Regions from separate parts of the Homo sapiens genome. Here regions 1 and 3 are each linked to region 2. The links are contacts of gene promoters, found by promoter capture Hi-C in blood cells and fetal thymus (Javierre and others, 2016). All regions are on one chromosome and are shown on one strand. Each heading gives the region's core, a stretch centred on a gene start or on the middle of the fragment in contact. The rest is flanking DNA. Distances are from core to core; before and after follow the strand shown. Region 1 has its middle 18 kb from the start of GFI1. Region 2 holds the start of GLMN (glomulin, FKBP associated protein). Region 3 has its middle 18 kb from the start of GFI1.

What was found. Contacts are between HindIII fragments. The CHiCAGO score rates a contact against its expected background, and 5 or more counts as called.
Region 1: a fragment that was not itself captured here is called in contact with the fragment with the promoter of GLMN in region 2 in 1 of 17 cell types (fetal thymus); the score reaches 5.0 in fetal thymus.
Region 3: a contact is called between a fragment that was not itself captured here and the fragment with the promoter of GLMN in region 2, in 1 of 17 cell types (fetal thymus). The highest score is 6.8, in fetal thymus.

The regions. Positions count from the first base shown.
Region 1 is chr1:92,466,418-92,471,193 of GRCh38, reverse strand. No RefSeq gene overlaps it. Among named protein-coding and RNA genes, the nearest start is that of GFI1, 18 kb to the left of the region's middle. The HindIII fragment of the contact is 1,038 bases long and covers 2,885-3,922 here.
Region 2 is chr1:92,295,290-92,300,318 of GRCh38, reverse strand. GLMN (glomulin, FKBP associated protein) reads left to right here and starts at 1,332. Exons shown (of 19, transcript NM_053274.3): 1 at 1,332-1,394; 2 at 2,290-2,358; 3 at 2,790-2,915. The coding sequence starts at 2,320. It overlaps RPAP2 (RNA polymerase II associated protein 2), which reads right to left and starts at 1,260. Exons shown (of 13, transcript NM_024813.3): 1 at 1,173-1,260; 2 at 80-125. The coding sequence starts at 1,245. RefSeq lists enhancers at 847-1,076, 1,297-1,766, 1,338-2,234 and a silencer at 1,498-1,835. The HindIII fragment of the contact is 769 bases long and covers 1,040-1,808 here.
Region 3 is chr1:92,502,419-92,507,353 of GRCh38, reverse strand. No RefSeq gene overlaps it. Among named protein-coding and RNA genes, the nearest start is that of GFI1, 18 kb to the right of the region's middle. RefSeq lists an enhancer at 2,763-2,952. The HindIII fragment of the contact is 1,360 bases long and covers 1,833-3,192 here.

The sequences.
Region 1 (4,776 bases), core at 2,154-4,653, 170 kb before region 2:
TTTCTGTTGGTTGTTTGCTTTTTATCAATTTGTTCTTTAAATATATTCTAAACGCTCACTGTTATGTTAGTTAAATGTGTTGCATACTTATCCCAGTCTATGGTTTGCCTTTTCACTTTGAAGAGAGGATTGTTTGCTTGTTTTGTTTTTGTGTGTAATCAAATGTATTAGTCTTTTCCTCAATGGTTTATGCTTCTTACATATCATTTACACTCTTTCCCTAGCTGGTGGTCATTAGATTCCCTATATTTTCTTCTAAAAGTGTTTAAATTTCTGTTTGTAACATTAGGTTTTCTTTTTTTTTTTTTTTTTTAGGTGGAGTCTCACTCTGTCACCCAGGCTGGAGTGCAGTGGCGCAATCTTGGCTCACTGCAAACTCTGCCTCCCGGGTTCAAGCGATTCTCCTGCCTCAGCCTCCCAAGTAGCTGAGACTACAGGCATGTGCCACCACACCTGGCTAATTTTTTATTTTTAGTAGAGACAGGGTTTCAACATGTTGGCCAGGCTGGTCTCGAACTCCTGATCTCAGGTGATCCACCCACCTCGGCCTCACAAAGTGCTGGGATTACAGGCGTGAAACATTAGCTTTTTAATCCACTTGTGTGTGTATAGTATAAAGTAGGACCTAATTTTAAAAATTTTCTTCACCATTAGTAATGGATAACCAATTATCCCAACATTATGTATTGCTATTTTCATCCTTTTCCCTCTGATTGTAATGCCACCTCTGTCATATGTCAAGTTTCTATTTCTGTATGGTTCTATTTCCAGGCTTGCTGATCTGTTCCACTGGTCATTTTGTCTATCTCTATGCCAAAGCCATAGTGTCTTAAATAATTTAAGTTACAATAAACTCTTAATAGCTAGTAGGGAAGGCTGCCTTGTGACCTGTTTCATCCTCTTCAGGAGTATCCTGGCTACCTTTGGCCCTTCGTTCTTGCATGTGAAAAACTCTATTGGAATTTAGGTTTGTATTACATTTATTATTTAATTTGGGGAGAATTGAAATTATTTTGCTATTGATTCTTCCTATACATAAATATGGTATATTGATTACTTATTTAATCTTCTTTTATGGCTTTCAATAACACTTTGTCATTGTCTGCATAATTTAATTACTTTTTAAACTTATTTTCTTAGTTCTTTTTTTGAAAATTGAATTTTGTCATTGCTGCTGATGTATGGGAACAAAATTAATTTTTCTATATGTTGATCTTGTATCCTGCAACTTTGCTGAACCCTCTTTTTTGGTTTTTGCAGATTATTTTAGATTTTCAGAGTAAGATAGCCATAAGATATTCAAGTGATTATAGCTTTATTTCATTCTTTCCATCTTATTATTGCCTCACTGCACTGGCCAGGGCTATACTGAATAGGGGCTGAATAATAGTCATCTTTGTCTTATTCCCTTATTCCAGGGAAATATTTTTAGTTTTTCACAACTTCATGTGATGTTTTTGGTAGGTTTTTGGTAGATAACTTGTTAAAAATGAGATTAGGAATTTCTGTTTCTATTTGGTAAGAATTTCCACTTGTGTATGTGTGTTTTTAATCAATGGGTATTTAATTATTTTTGTGTGATTTTTCTGCATCTATTGAGAGAATAAATATATTTTTAATCTTTTATCCTTTGTCAACATGCAAATTATATTTATAATTTTCTCTAATGTTTTAAATTATCCTTGTATTATTTGGGGAAAAAACCCCCACCTAGAGGGAATAAATTCCAACTTAGTCATTTAAACAACATTGCTGATTTGGTTTGCTGACCTTTACTTAGGATTTTTGCATTATACTTACTAGTGAAATTGGCTTATAATTTTTATTTCTTATGCTGCCCAAGGTTTAACATGTTTCAAAATGAACAGGGTAACATTTCTTCTTCTTCTGTTTTCTGGATCAATTTGTGAAGGACTGGAATTATATGTTCTCTGAATGTTTGATAGAACTCACCTGGGATTTTTTTGATGAAGGCTAGCAAAGAGGAGGGTATATTTAAGTTTTAGTTACTATAGGTCTATTCAGGTTTTTAATTTTTTCTTAAATATGCTGTATCATGGCTGGGCACGGTGGCTCATGCCTGTAATCCCAGCACTTTGGGAGGCCGAGACGGCTGGATCACGAGGTCAGGAGTTCGAGACCATCCTGGCTAACATGGTGAAACCCTGTCTCTACTAAAAATACAAAAAAATTAGCCGGGCGTGGTGGCGGGCATCTGTGGTCCCAGCTACTTGGGAGGCTGAGGCGGGAGAATGGCATGAACCAGGGAGGTGGAGCTTGCAGTGAGCCGAGATCGCCCCACTGCATTCCAGCCTGGGTGACAGAGCAAGACTCCATCTCAAAAAAAAAATGCTGTATCATATATATATATCAGCATATTTATAAGTATCCAAATTAATTGCCACAGACATTTCATAGAGTTCTCTGATTTTTAAAAAATGTCTACTCCACCTATAATTATGTTCAATTTTTCTTTCTGATATTGTTCATTTGTACCTTTATCTTTTTTCTTTAATATTGCCAAAGGTCCCTATTTTATTAGTTTTTGCAGCATATTTTCATTGTCATTCATTTCTATATCTTATCTAACAATATTTCTTATTTGACAGATGTATTATTTAGAAGTACATTTAAAATTTCTAAACATCTCTGGCTTAGAGTTGCAAAATAAAATTCTAAACATGTTTTTTCAGTAATTTTTGTAAGTGATTTATAATTTAATTATATTTTGATCAGAGAACCTGACTTGCATAATATTAATTCTCTAATATTTGTTGAGATTTATTTTGTGGCCTTCTCCATGGTCAATTTTTATAGATAATGTGTGCTTGAAAAGAATGTATATATTCTAATTGCCAAGTGCAAGTTCCACTATGATTAAGCTTGTGATTATATTGTTCGAATTTTCTATATCCTAAATAATTTTGGTCTGCTTAATCAACCAATCACTGAGAGAGATAGGTTTTACTTTCTCATGGTGATTATTAAGTTATAAATTTTTCCTTTAAGTTCTTTTTTTTTTTTCCATGTGAGCTTGAGAAAAATCTCCTTTGAATTCTGTTAACTCTTTTTCTTTTACCTATTTTGAGGGTTGTTATTAGGTGCATAAAATTTTGAACTATTTCGTATTCCTGGTGAATTATTCCTTTTTTAATCATCATTCTATTGTACTCATTGCCTTTAGTTTTTTGTTTGGTTGGTTGGTTGTTTTTTTTTTAAGTTTTTTTTTTTCCTTAGAGACAGGGTTGCCTAGGCTGGAGTGCAGTGGTGCTATCTCGGCTCACTGCAGCCCTGACCTCCCTGGCTCAGGTGATTCTTCTACCTTAGCCTCCTGAGTGGCTGGGACCACAGGCACATACCACCACACCCTTCTAATTTTTGTAGTTTTTGTAGAGATGGGGTTGCACCATATTTCCCACACTGGTCTTGAGCTGCTGGCCTCAAGCAATCCATCTACCTTGGGCCTTCAAAATGCTGCGATTACAAGTGTGAGCCACTATGGCTGGCCTATTTTTACATGGTATTTTTAATGTCCTTTTATTTTTAATCTTTTTATGTTCTTATGCTTTAGGAATATATCTTTGTAAATAGCATTAATTCAATATTATTTACCTTTTTAAAGTCAGACATAAGTAAAATAAAATTTCCAATTGAAAATATAATTTCTGATACTGTTTCACTATATGTATGTGTGGTGTACATGTACCTGATCTTTTCATCTCTAAGCAACTTAATCTAATAGGAATCTGTTGCTGTTTTCTCATTTCCAATGAGCTTTTACTGATAAAAAAGAATTACACACACACACAGGAGAGAAAAGTACTCACTCTGCCCAAAACAATATGATGCTTACTGCTTTACTCTGCTAGTCCATTTTTTGGTATTCAAGGAAGGATTCTATCTTGCAAGGTTTTTTAAAGCTTGCATTTGTTTTAACTGTAAAGGAGACCCAAAAGCAGGAAGTTAGGTTTGTTTCTTGATGCTAGTTTTACAAACTTCATTGAGAAGTTTTTTAATTTTTGGTAAAGTAGGAAGCCTAGTTTCAATTCTGTCTTTTAACATGAATTAGACAATTTCCTAGGTTGCCCTTTCTGAGAAGAACTGATTGGCACGCCTTTATAAGATTTGCTGCAATAGCAGTTCTTCAGTTTTTCTTAGAGTAAGGAAAATCTGAGTGGATGCCTCTTGTGACTTTTTGGGAGAGCCAGAAACCATCCTTTCATTAACCTTTAGTAGAATTGTCTGTGTTTCACCTCTTGGATATACCTTCCCAGAGACATCACACAAACTCAACTTCCTCTTTCCCTGTACTAAAAACCACTGTTCATGGGACTCTAATAAACAAGAGTAACAGGTTCTTAACTGGGCTGAGGGAGTCCCACCACAGTGTAATATTTTTGCATGTCATCTTTGCATGGTTATTGTTTACATGATATATTTAGGTACTATATAAAATAACATAAAATAAAAAGTTTAAAATAAAGGTAGAACCAGATGACCTTCAAAACTCTTTCAATCCAGGAGCTGGGCATTGTGGCTCATGCCTGTAATTCCAGTGACTCGGGAGACTGAAGTGGGAGAATTCTTGAGGCAAAGAGTTCGTGACCGGCCTGGACAACATAATGAGACCTGGTCCCTGATATTTTTTTTTTTTTAATTCCCTGGGCAATAAAGTGAGACCCTGTCTCCAAACAAACAGACAAACAAACAAAAAAACCAGTGGGCAGTGAACTGGAAGACTCTTTGCAATCCAAATGCTAGTGTCAAAGGTTTAGC
Region 2 (5,029 bases), core at 83-2,582:
CCATTATTGTTTTAAAATTGGTACAAGTAATACAAGATAAGTAGATATGCCAATGTAGTTGTCCATGTAGCTGTCATACCTTTTAGAAGCATCTTCTTGTTTCAAAGTACTTGTCTGTTTAGTACCTACAATAAAAATACAGTCATGTGCTACATAATGACATTTCCGTAAACGACGGACAGCATACAGACAGCGGTCTCATAAGATTAAAATACTGTATTTTTACTGTACCTTTTCTATGTTTAGATATACAGTTGCCTACAGTACTTAGTACAGTAACATGCTGTGCAGGTTTGTAGCCTGGGAGCAATAGGCTGTACCATATAGCCTAGTGTGTAAGTAGGCTGTACCATCTAGGTTTGTGTAAGTGCACTCGATGATGGTCACACAAGGATGAAATCGACTAACAACTTATTTCTCAAAATGCATCCCCGCAGTTAAGCTACACATGGTGGCAGTAGGTCAGGTCTACACAAACACATTAGGTACAAGATAGATTCCTACACAAATAACAAACTGTAGACCACCTTTTCTTCTTTTCCACATATTTTATGTCCAATCGTGTGTAAATCAAAATGAAATAGGAAGGGAGAGCAATTTGTTTTTGCAAATTGATTACTGTCTAATTTTTCTTGGTTAAAATGTATCTCTTTGGGGATTGAATTTTCTTCTGTATCATAGTTGCTTAATTAACCACTCCTGAAAATCTGAGATCTGGGTACTTTTAGGGGAAACCTCTCTCCGTCTGCCAAACGTCCTCTCTGGGGGAAGAGGGGAGTCCGGCACCTTAAAGAACTGGGCACCCAAGCAATCTGGAAAGGAGGACCGGTCCTAGGTTCAAGGCCAGCTGCCAACGCTGCCCTAGTCACTTGCCCCGAAACCCGGGGACCCCAGGCCTGGGTTCCCGGGGCCTCCACTGTCCTTTGTCTCAGAGGCTGGGGCCACAGTCCGCGTGAGGGAAATCTTGGAACACTGGCGTAAAGGGGTGAGGGGCGGCCAGGAAATCTTTCCCAGGAGGTGCGGACGGCGGTGGGAAGCTTTCGGCCTACTCTACCTGGGAGAACCCCTCCCCTGAAGCAGCCTTTCAGGAGCGCCCGCGCGCTGCGGTCTATAACTCGAGATCGGGGCCCAGCTTTCAGGGTCCAAAAGTGGGAAGAGATCCTTGCTCCTACCTGCGGCTTTTCGAGAGCAGCGGGGAGCCCCGGCCTTGCGGCCGGCAGAAGACGGCCCAGCGAAGTCCGCCATGGGGGAGAGTAGTCTGCCGGACGGGGACACGCTCCGGCGTCTCGCCCCGAGGCCCCGCCTCCCTACGCGTAGCGCGGGGCGGGGCCAGAAGAGCGGGCTAAGACGCCGGAGGAGGTGGCGGCGGCTGGGAGAGGCGAGGGTTCTGGCCGGTAAGTGGAGTTGTGGAGAGGTTCAGGGTGGCCAGGGCTCGCGGTTGGCCGTGAGCCGCGGCGGACTTGGTGCTGCGGGCCGACTAGGCCACGCGAGGTGGTGGAGCCTGCCCACCTAGGCGAGCAGGAATCGGAAGACATGGCTTCCTCTGATGCAGCCCGCACGCGCGCTGGGGTGTTCACTCGCCTTCCAGCGCGCTGCCCTGAGGACCGGGCTGACTCGCGCCCCTACTGAGGGCTTGGGGCCGAGCCTTGCCGCCAGGAGAAGCGATGGTCTCCTCCTGAAGGCCGCCGTTGTCTTGTCTCCGTGTGATACAGTGATTTCACTAGCTGGATTGATCACTTTGGGGACTGCAACTCCTAGAGAGAAATGGAATGGAGGGCATCTGAATCTTCACCCCCTATAGATAAGCTTGTGTTGCACCCCAATTTTTGTGAGGTGAGACATTAAAAATGAAAAATCCCCTGATGATTAGAATTTTGATTTCAGGTCCACCTTTTGGAAATTTTTTTTCAGAAAAGAAGTGCTTTGCTTTTTAAAAGCCCTTTAGTTCGTATATGCCTCGCCTCTTGGGAGTGCTCGAGAGGTTTTTTTTGTTTTTTTTTCCTTCAAAGTAGCTTTCAAAACTATGCTCCTAGAAAACTTAAAACATGCAATAAGGGCTTCTAAAAAAACACTTTATTTTCTTAGGCAAACATACTAAGATTCAGTAATAACATTTCAACTTTAAAACTTTACATTTTCTCCTAGCATGCTATTGGACCAAAAAACACAACAACAAAAACTTTCCATTTTCTTTATTGTATTTACTAATAATTTATCACACTGAAACATAACTTTTGAATACTTAAGTGTAATATCACGGATAGTTAACAGTGTGTTTTGTATTTGTAGATTTTAGCATCGAAACTAGGAGAAATAAGAATGGCTGTAGAGGAACTTCAGTCTATAATAAAGAGATGTGTAAGTATTAATTTTTGTAAAATTAAATACCTTTCAAAATATGGGAAGGGCACAGATTGTTTTTAATTATATTTGTGGTCACTCAAATTGTTTATCTTCTTTAATCCTTGCTTTTTTTGACCTGTAAAGAGCATGAGTGGGGGAGGCAGATTGGATTATTTCTCCAGGTGACATACTTATCTAAATAACCTTTTACATTTTAATCCTGATCCTTTTCATAGATTTCACTGGTACAGTAGATTTCAAGGTCACTTATTAAAGTATTTATTAGGGTAATCCTAATTTTGATACGTGTGTTATTTACGTTACATTTATCTAGAATTTAAACAGATTTCCTTTTTTCATAGATAAATCAAGAAGTTATTGTATTTAATTTTTATTTGCATATACTTTTTTTTGTTTGTTTTTTGGGTTTTTTTTTTTTTTGCCAGCAAATCCTAGAAGAGCAAGACTTTAAAGAAGAGGATTTTGGCCTATTTCAGTTAGCTGGGCAAAGATGCATAGAAGAAGGGCACACAGACCAGCTATTAGAAATTATTCAAAATGAAAAGAATAAGGTGCGTACAATCTTGGTGTTTACTTTTCAGTCTTGGGAAGAGAATAATCACATGATGCTATTCATCCAGTCATTTATCCATCAAACATTTAAGAATCTACTTAAATTTTCACAGTAGGGAACTGAAAACAAAAAAAGAATTAGAAATATTTAGGCCAGGCGCAGTGGCTCACGTTCGTAATCACAGCGTTATGGGAGGCCAAGGCAGGCAGATCACTTGAGCCCAGGAGTTTGAGACCAGCCTGGGCAACAGAGTAAGACCCTGTCTCAGAAAAAAAAAAAAAAAAAAGAAAAGAAACAGTCATATACTTGAAGGTTTTTACCATCTGGTCAAACATAAACATGTAAACAACTAACAATAATGAGGCAAAATAAATAATTGCTATAGTTGAAGTAAAGAGTTTTTAGAAGAAACAGAATTACTTCTGGTTTAGGGAGTCCAAAAATGGTGTTTGAGTCATTAATTTACAATGAGAAATATACATATCAAGCAGGCTAAATATTCATTTTGGGTGATCAGCCCATTCTCCTCCAGCCAAATGTGTATGGAAAACCAAATTTTAATTAAAACAGTATTTTATGTGCATAGAATCAGAACAGGAGGAAAACGATATGTCATTATACTAGCCAGTATCATCCAGTTACAATGGTTTGAGAAATCATCCTCCACAATGGAAAAGGATCTTATTTGTGGATCAGGAATAACTTTTTCCTGGGACACTGTGTTGGCAACATCCTGCCAAATTTTGTGTCTTTGGATACTCCTTATAAGGAAGACGGCTATGGTTTGGCTCTGTGTCCCCACCCAGATCTCACCTTGAATTGTAATAATCCCTGTGTGTCAAGGATGGGACCAGGTGGAGGTGATTGAATCATGGGGGTGGTTTCCCCATGCTTCTCATGATAGGGAGTGAGTTCTCACCAGGTCTGATGGTTTTATAACCATCTGGCATTTCCCCTGTTGGCACTCAGTCCCTCTCCTGCTGCCCTGTGAAGAGGTGCCTTCCGCCATGATTGTTAAGTTTCCTGAGGCCTCCCTAGCCATGTGGAACTGCATGTCAATTAAACCTCTTTTCTTTCTAAATTACCCAGGCTTGGGTATTTTTTCATAGCAGCATGAGAACAGACTAATACAAAGACCATCTTCCTTCTAGGTACACACTCTTTCTTCATTTGCAGTGCTACTTATTTATTAGAAGTTTTCTTTCTTGATATCACAGTGTAATCATGTTGATCTGTGTTTCTCTCCAGGGCATCTTGATTGGATTTGGGGGATTCCTAAAACTTTTTAATCATATATTATTATAACATCTCTTAGTCAGTAGTTCAAATGGCTTATACCCTTCTTATTTTTTATTAAAATAGGACATTTTATTTAGTTTTTGATACATGTTTATGATAACTTTGTAACCTCCAATATAATAAATCTTATGTTTTTTAAACTCTTCTTGATTTTTTTCTAATTGCGTTCTCAGGATAACCTTCTAAAGTACTTAGCTTTCAGCTAATAATAAAAAAATTAATAACAACTAATATTTATTGCATGTTTACATGTACCAGATGCTGTCTTTAGTCCTTTACATTTATTAACTTAATTAGTCTCTCCAAAATCTCAGAAGGTAGGTGTTCATTTTGTAACTGAAAAGTTAAATGACTTGCCCAAAAGTAAGTCAGCTTTTATGTAACATCCAAGATTCAGACCTGTGTAGCATGGTTTTGGAGCTCCTAACCACTCTGCTCTACCTCTGGTTAGTGCTGTATGGCGTATGGTTTTAGGGTAGAATACAGGGGATTGCTTGATTGAGAGGGAGAGGCATCAAAAATGACTGGGTTTCTAGCCTCTAAAAGGATAACATATGATATCAAACAGAAAAAGGCAACCTAAGTAGAGGGAAAAGTTTTCTGAAGGAACAAGTGAGTTGACTTTTAGAAATTTTGAGTTTAAGTACAGCAGTCAATTGGAAAATAAGGTTTTGAGCTCAGTAGAGATAGAGGAATTAAGATGTAGATCTCTGAGACACATATCTGTGAGACTTTAATTACCTAAAGATTGGGTAATTGAAGCATTGAGGAGTGAAAAAAAAAAACAAGAATTTACCTGAGTTCACATAAAAG
Region 3 (4,935 bases), core at 1,263-3,762, 210 kb before region 2:
GGAAGGACAGAGAATGAAAATCACTGCTAGTTGAGAACCACTGCTATAAATTTAGAATTGGGTCATAAAAAGAGCCACTCGGGCCAAACATAAGAATATATACATCATTTGGGGTTTTGTAAATGGCAGAGCAGCTCCCTCACTGCAATCTATTGAAAGTCAGCCCTTGACACAAGGGTTTGTAAAATACAAAAACATAAACTACACACACACACACACACACACACACACACACACACACACACACACACCAGCCAGGTACCGTGATTCATGCCTGTAATCCCAACACTTGGGGAAGATGACATGGGAGGATCCCTTGAGGCCAGGAGTTGGAGACCAGTCTGGGCAAGATAGCAAGCCCCAGTCTCTTTAAAAAAAAAATTATATGTATATATTTATACACATACACACACACACATATATATATACACACACCCCTATTAAAGATGCATCACAAATTTGACTCTGTTTCCAGTAAGTGAAAAAAGTAGTATCTGAACCACAACGAGGTACCATTTTACACACCTATTAGGATGGCTATTTAAAAAATGAAAATATGCCCTGTGAAAACCCGGGAGCTCAAAAGAAAAAAAAAAACCGTTGGCAAAATATGTGGAAAAACTGGAACCCTTGTACATTGCTGCTGGGAGTGGAAAATGGTGTAGCCTCTGTGAGAAACAGTTCAGTGGTCTTTAAAAATGTTAATTGTAGAATTACCATGTAACCCAGCAATTCCACTTCTAGACATATACTCAAAGCAGTAACTCAGATACTTGTACATCAATGTTCACAGCAGCATTACTCATGATAGCCAACATGTGGGAACAACCCATATGACCAACAGGTGAATGGATAAGTAAAATGTGGTATATACTACATATACAACGGAATACTATTCAGCCATAAAAAAGTAAAAGTATAATGCTACAAAATAGATGAACCTTGAAAACATGCTAAGTAAAATAAGCCAGACACATAGTATGGTTCCACTTATATGAGATATCTAGAACAGGCAAATTCATAGAGACAGAAATAGAGTAGACATTACCCAGCAGTGGAGGTGAGGGAAGAGAGTTAACGGCATAATGAATACAGAACTTTTGTTTGGAATGCTGGAAAAGTTTTGGAGATGGATAGTGGTCATGGCTGCATGACACTGATTGTACTTAATGCCACTGAGTTGTGCATTTAAAAATGGTTAAAATGATAAAAAAAAAAAATACTAGGCATGTTAAGAATTTAGCATCAGCCAGGCATGGTGGCTCATGCCTGTAATCCCAACACTTTGGGAGGCCAAGACAGGAGGATCACTTGAGCCCAGGAGTTCAAGACCAGCCTGAGCAACATAGCAAGACCCCATCTCAAAAGAAATAAAGAACTTAAAGTCAACTTATTTACTAAAGATATTCAAATAAAGATATTTAGAAGGAAAAAAAGTAAAACCTGCGGTTATAAAATTTGCAGCGCCCATGAAATAAGAAAATGTTTAGGCGTAAAATTCTAGCACTAGAGCACTAGACTGGGACTCAAGCTTTGTATTGATTAATCCTGGACAAACAACAAAAAATTATGACCTCCTTGCTGATCCATGGACACACCAGACTCCCATCAGGACCCTGCCCTTCCTAGGATGCTCAGCTAAATACCACAAGGCAGCTCCCCACCTCCACCAGGTCTCTGCTCAACCTGCACAGGAGGCCTTTTCTGATCCTTCCGTTGAAAAAGCCTCTTCCTAGCTTTACTTTTCTCCATAGCAGTGATTACAGTCTGACATCCTACCCATTTTACATATTTGTTGGTTTATTGTTTATCTCCACACCAGAATGCAAGCTTTATGAGTGCAGAGATTTTTATCTCTATCCCAGCAGTGCCTTGGCTCTCAATAAATATTTGTTGAATGAATGCATGAATAACTGAAGAAGTCATTTTACCTCAATGTCTTCATTATTGAAACGAGGTAAACATCTGTGAAATACAAATATCAGTAGAAAGTCCAGGATTCCAATGCAGCCAGCCTAGCTCCAGAGTCCTCTAATTACACAATATTGCTTTGGCACAAGGCACAGATCAGTCACTGTTGAGGAAGCAAAGATGAACCAGACCAACTCCTACCCTCATGCATGGGGCAAGAGATACAGGAGAACAGAAGCACTGCCGTGGGAATTCAGAGGTTACCTTCAACTTGGGGGAGGGGCTTATTTTGCGTCCCTACCCCCTCCCTGCCCATTCCCCACCCTGTGTACAGGATGGTGCCCGTGACCCTGCCACAACCTTTATGTACCACGCCCCATTCTCTCCTACCCTATGACCTGCTCAGAGGTGACCTGCTGATGTCACCTAACTGGGTCTATAGCTGCATCTCTCCTGCACTCCAGATTTTACCAAGAATGTCTGAAAATGAGCATCTTAAACCAGGCCCAGAGAACTTTTTAACTCCTCCTGAACTGACTGTCAGTTCACTGTGTCCACGGTGAGATCAGAAGGCTGCTGTGTCCTCACTCCCCTGTTGCCTACGGTTGGCCACCTTTTCAGAGACCACATAGCGTCTTCTCTGAGGCTGTCCTCAGTTACAGGAGAAAGCAGGGTCAGGTGGAAAGAAACTGGTTGGCTTTAAAGATGTTGTTTCTCTGATTTTTTTTTAAAGGAAATGCATACTGTACACATGAGAGACTCCAAGGCTGAGATGCTGTGGCAGTTGAGATGCACCTGGGAGCTCCTAACTGTTCCCTGCCTCTGCCTCAGAGGGCGGGACGGCAGCCATTGCACACCACCCCCTCCACAGCAAACCAGTCAAGCCTTGTCTCTCCCCCCCACCAAGGGGCTCTTCCCCTCCAGCAGAGGCTTTCCTAGTCTCTGGTGTCACCTATGCCCTTCCTGTCCCAGGACAGGAACAGATACACCCCGTTGGTGCTTGCTGTACTTCTACATTCAAGGCACAATTTTGTGTGTCCCTGCCTAACCTCAACCAGGATGACTTCGTCGTGGGTAGAAGAGATGACATCTTATTCATCAGCCTGCTTTGTCACTTTTGTATGTCTCAAGGTCCAGCATCTGTCCTTGTGCCTGTCACTGGAGTGCAGAATTAGACTAACCATGCTCCATTTACAAAGAGAGAGTTTTAAAACCTTTAGCACATGAATGAATATTTGTCTCTGCAGCCTCCTTACCACCAAATACTCTTAAGGTCAAGCTTCGGCTTCCCAGGAGTCCGTGAGCCATTTCCCTCTCCCAGCTCCCTCGGCCCGGCTGAATTCGTGCCAGAACTACAAAAGCAAGCTGCCGGGTGAAGTGGTAGAAAACCAAAGCATGGGAGTCATGATGTTAAGCACAAATTTTTAAAGAACAATTTCATGCATTTCCACTTGTTAACTCTTAGTCCATTCAGAGGCTGAAGGCAGGTCCAGCTCTGCCCTTTTCTGGCAAGCTGCCTTCTAGTTGTGCTGTGGAGGGATGTTCCTGGTGGGCAGCTCCCCAGGCCAGTGCTGGGATTTGAGTAATCACAGGCCCAAGTAGGGTGTGTGGGAAGGTGTGCTGTTTGGTCTGGCTCACAGCCGCTGACACTCTGCAGCTATTTTAAACGGATCCCACAACCTTTCATTTGCTTCACTAATTTCTCTAAAATAGAATTGTTTATTTGTGGGTGAAAATTGGAGACGTTTCTTGTTCATCACCAAACTGCTCTTTGGTGAGACTGGAGACAATGCGTGTACTGGAGCCTAAAGGGTTTGGCACATAGTAAGTGTTCAATCAACAGCAGCTGCTGTTGTTAGCTGAGTTCCCTGAGAAAGATTGTGCATGGCATCTCTGAATTCCCCAGAACCAGTACAGCCTGCTTGGTAAGGAGTTATTGATGTGAATGTTCCTTCTGACTTGACTTCTCATCTGTGTCCTCTGTCCACATGGTATCTCCACATGTTTGCCATGTGTGGCACATTGGAAGTATTGTTTGAGGTGATTGCACAACAGTCTCTACTTTCTGATTGCTAGTAGTGGTAATGATAATAGTAGTTATTATTATACAGTAATATCCTGCATTAGTCAGGATAGGCTGGATTTTACTGTGTTAACAAATACTCTGAAATCTCAGTGGTTTACATCAGTTCTCACTCATGCTGTGTGTCCATCAAATGCTGGCTGTGGCTCTGCTCTATGCTGTTTTTACTCTAGGACCCAGGCTGATGATGCTACTTCTATTTTGAACATTGCTGAGTGTTGTGGCAGAGGGCAAAGGGATACAGTGAACCACATGCTCGTTCCCAAAACTTCTCCCTGGATGTGATATACATCATTTCGAGGCACATTTCTTTTTTTTTTTTTTTTTTTTTTTTTTTTTTTTTTGAGCTGGAGTCTCACTCTGTCTCCCAGGCTGAAGTGCAGTAGCGCGATCTCGGCTCATTGCAACCTCTGCCTCCCGGGTTCAAGCGATTTTCCTGCCTCAGCCTCTCGAGTAGCTGGGACTGTAGGAGTGCATCACCATGCCCGGCTAATTTGTGTGTGTGTGTGTGTGTGTGTGTGTGTGTGTGTGTGTGTGTGTGTGTATTTTTAGTAGAGACAGGGTTTAACTATGTTGGCCAGGCTGGTCTCGAACTCCTGACCTCATGATCCACCCGTCTCGGCCTCCCAAAGTGCTGGAATTACAGGCGTGAGCCACCACGCACGACCAGAGGCACATTTCATTGGCTAAGGTAAGTCACATGCTAAGACATCCCAGGGAGAGGGCAGTGACTATTTGGAAACATAGTACTTACTCTGTGCCAACAAGTACTCTGAGTACATTTTAGAAACAATGGCTTTATTGTGATATAATTCACACACTATAAAATTCAGCCTTTTAAAGTGTACAATTGCATAGTACAGCACAGAGTTGTACAACCATCACCACTATCTAATTTCAGAGTATTTTCAGCATGAAAAAAGAAACCTAATACTCACTGG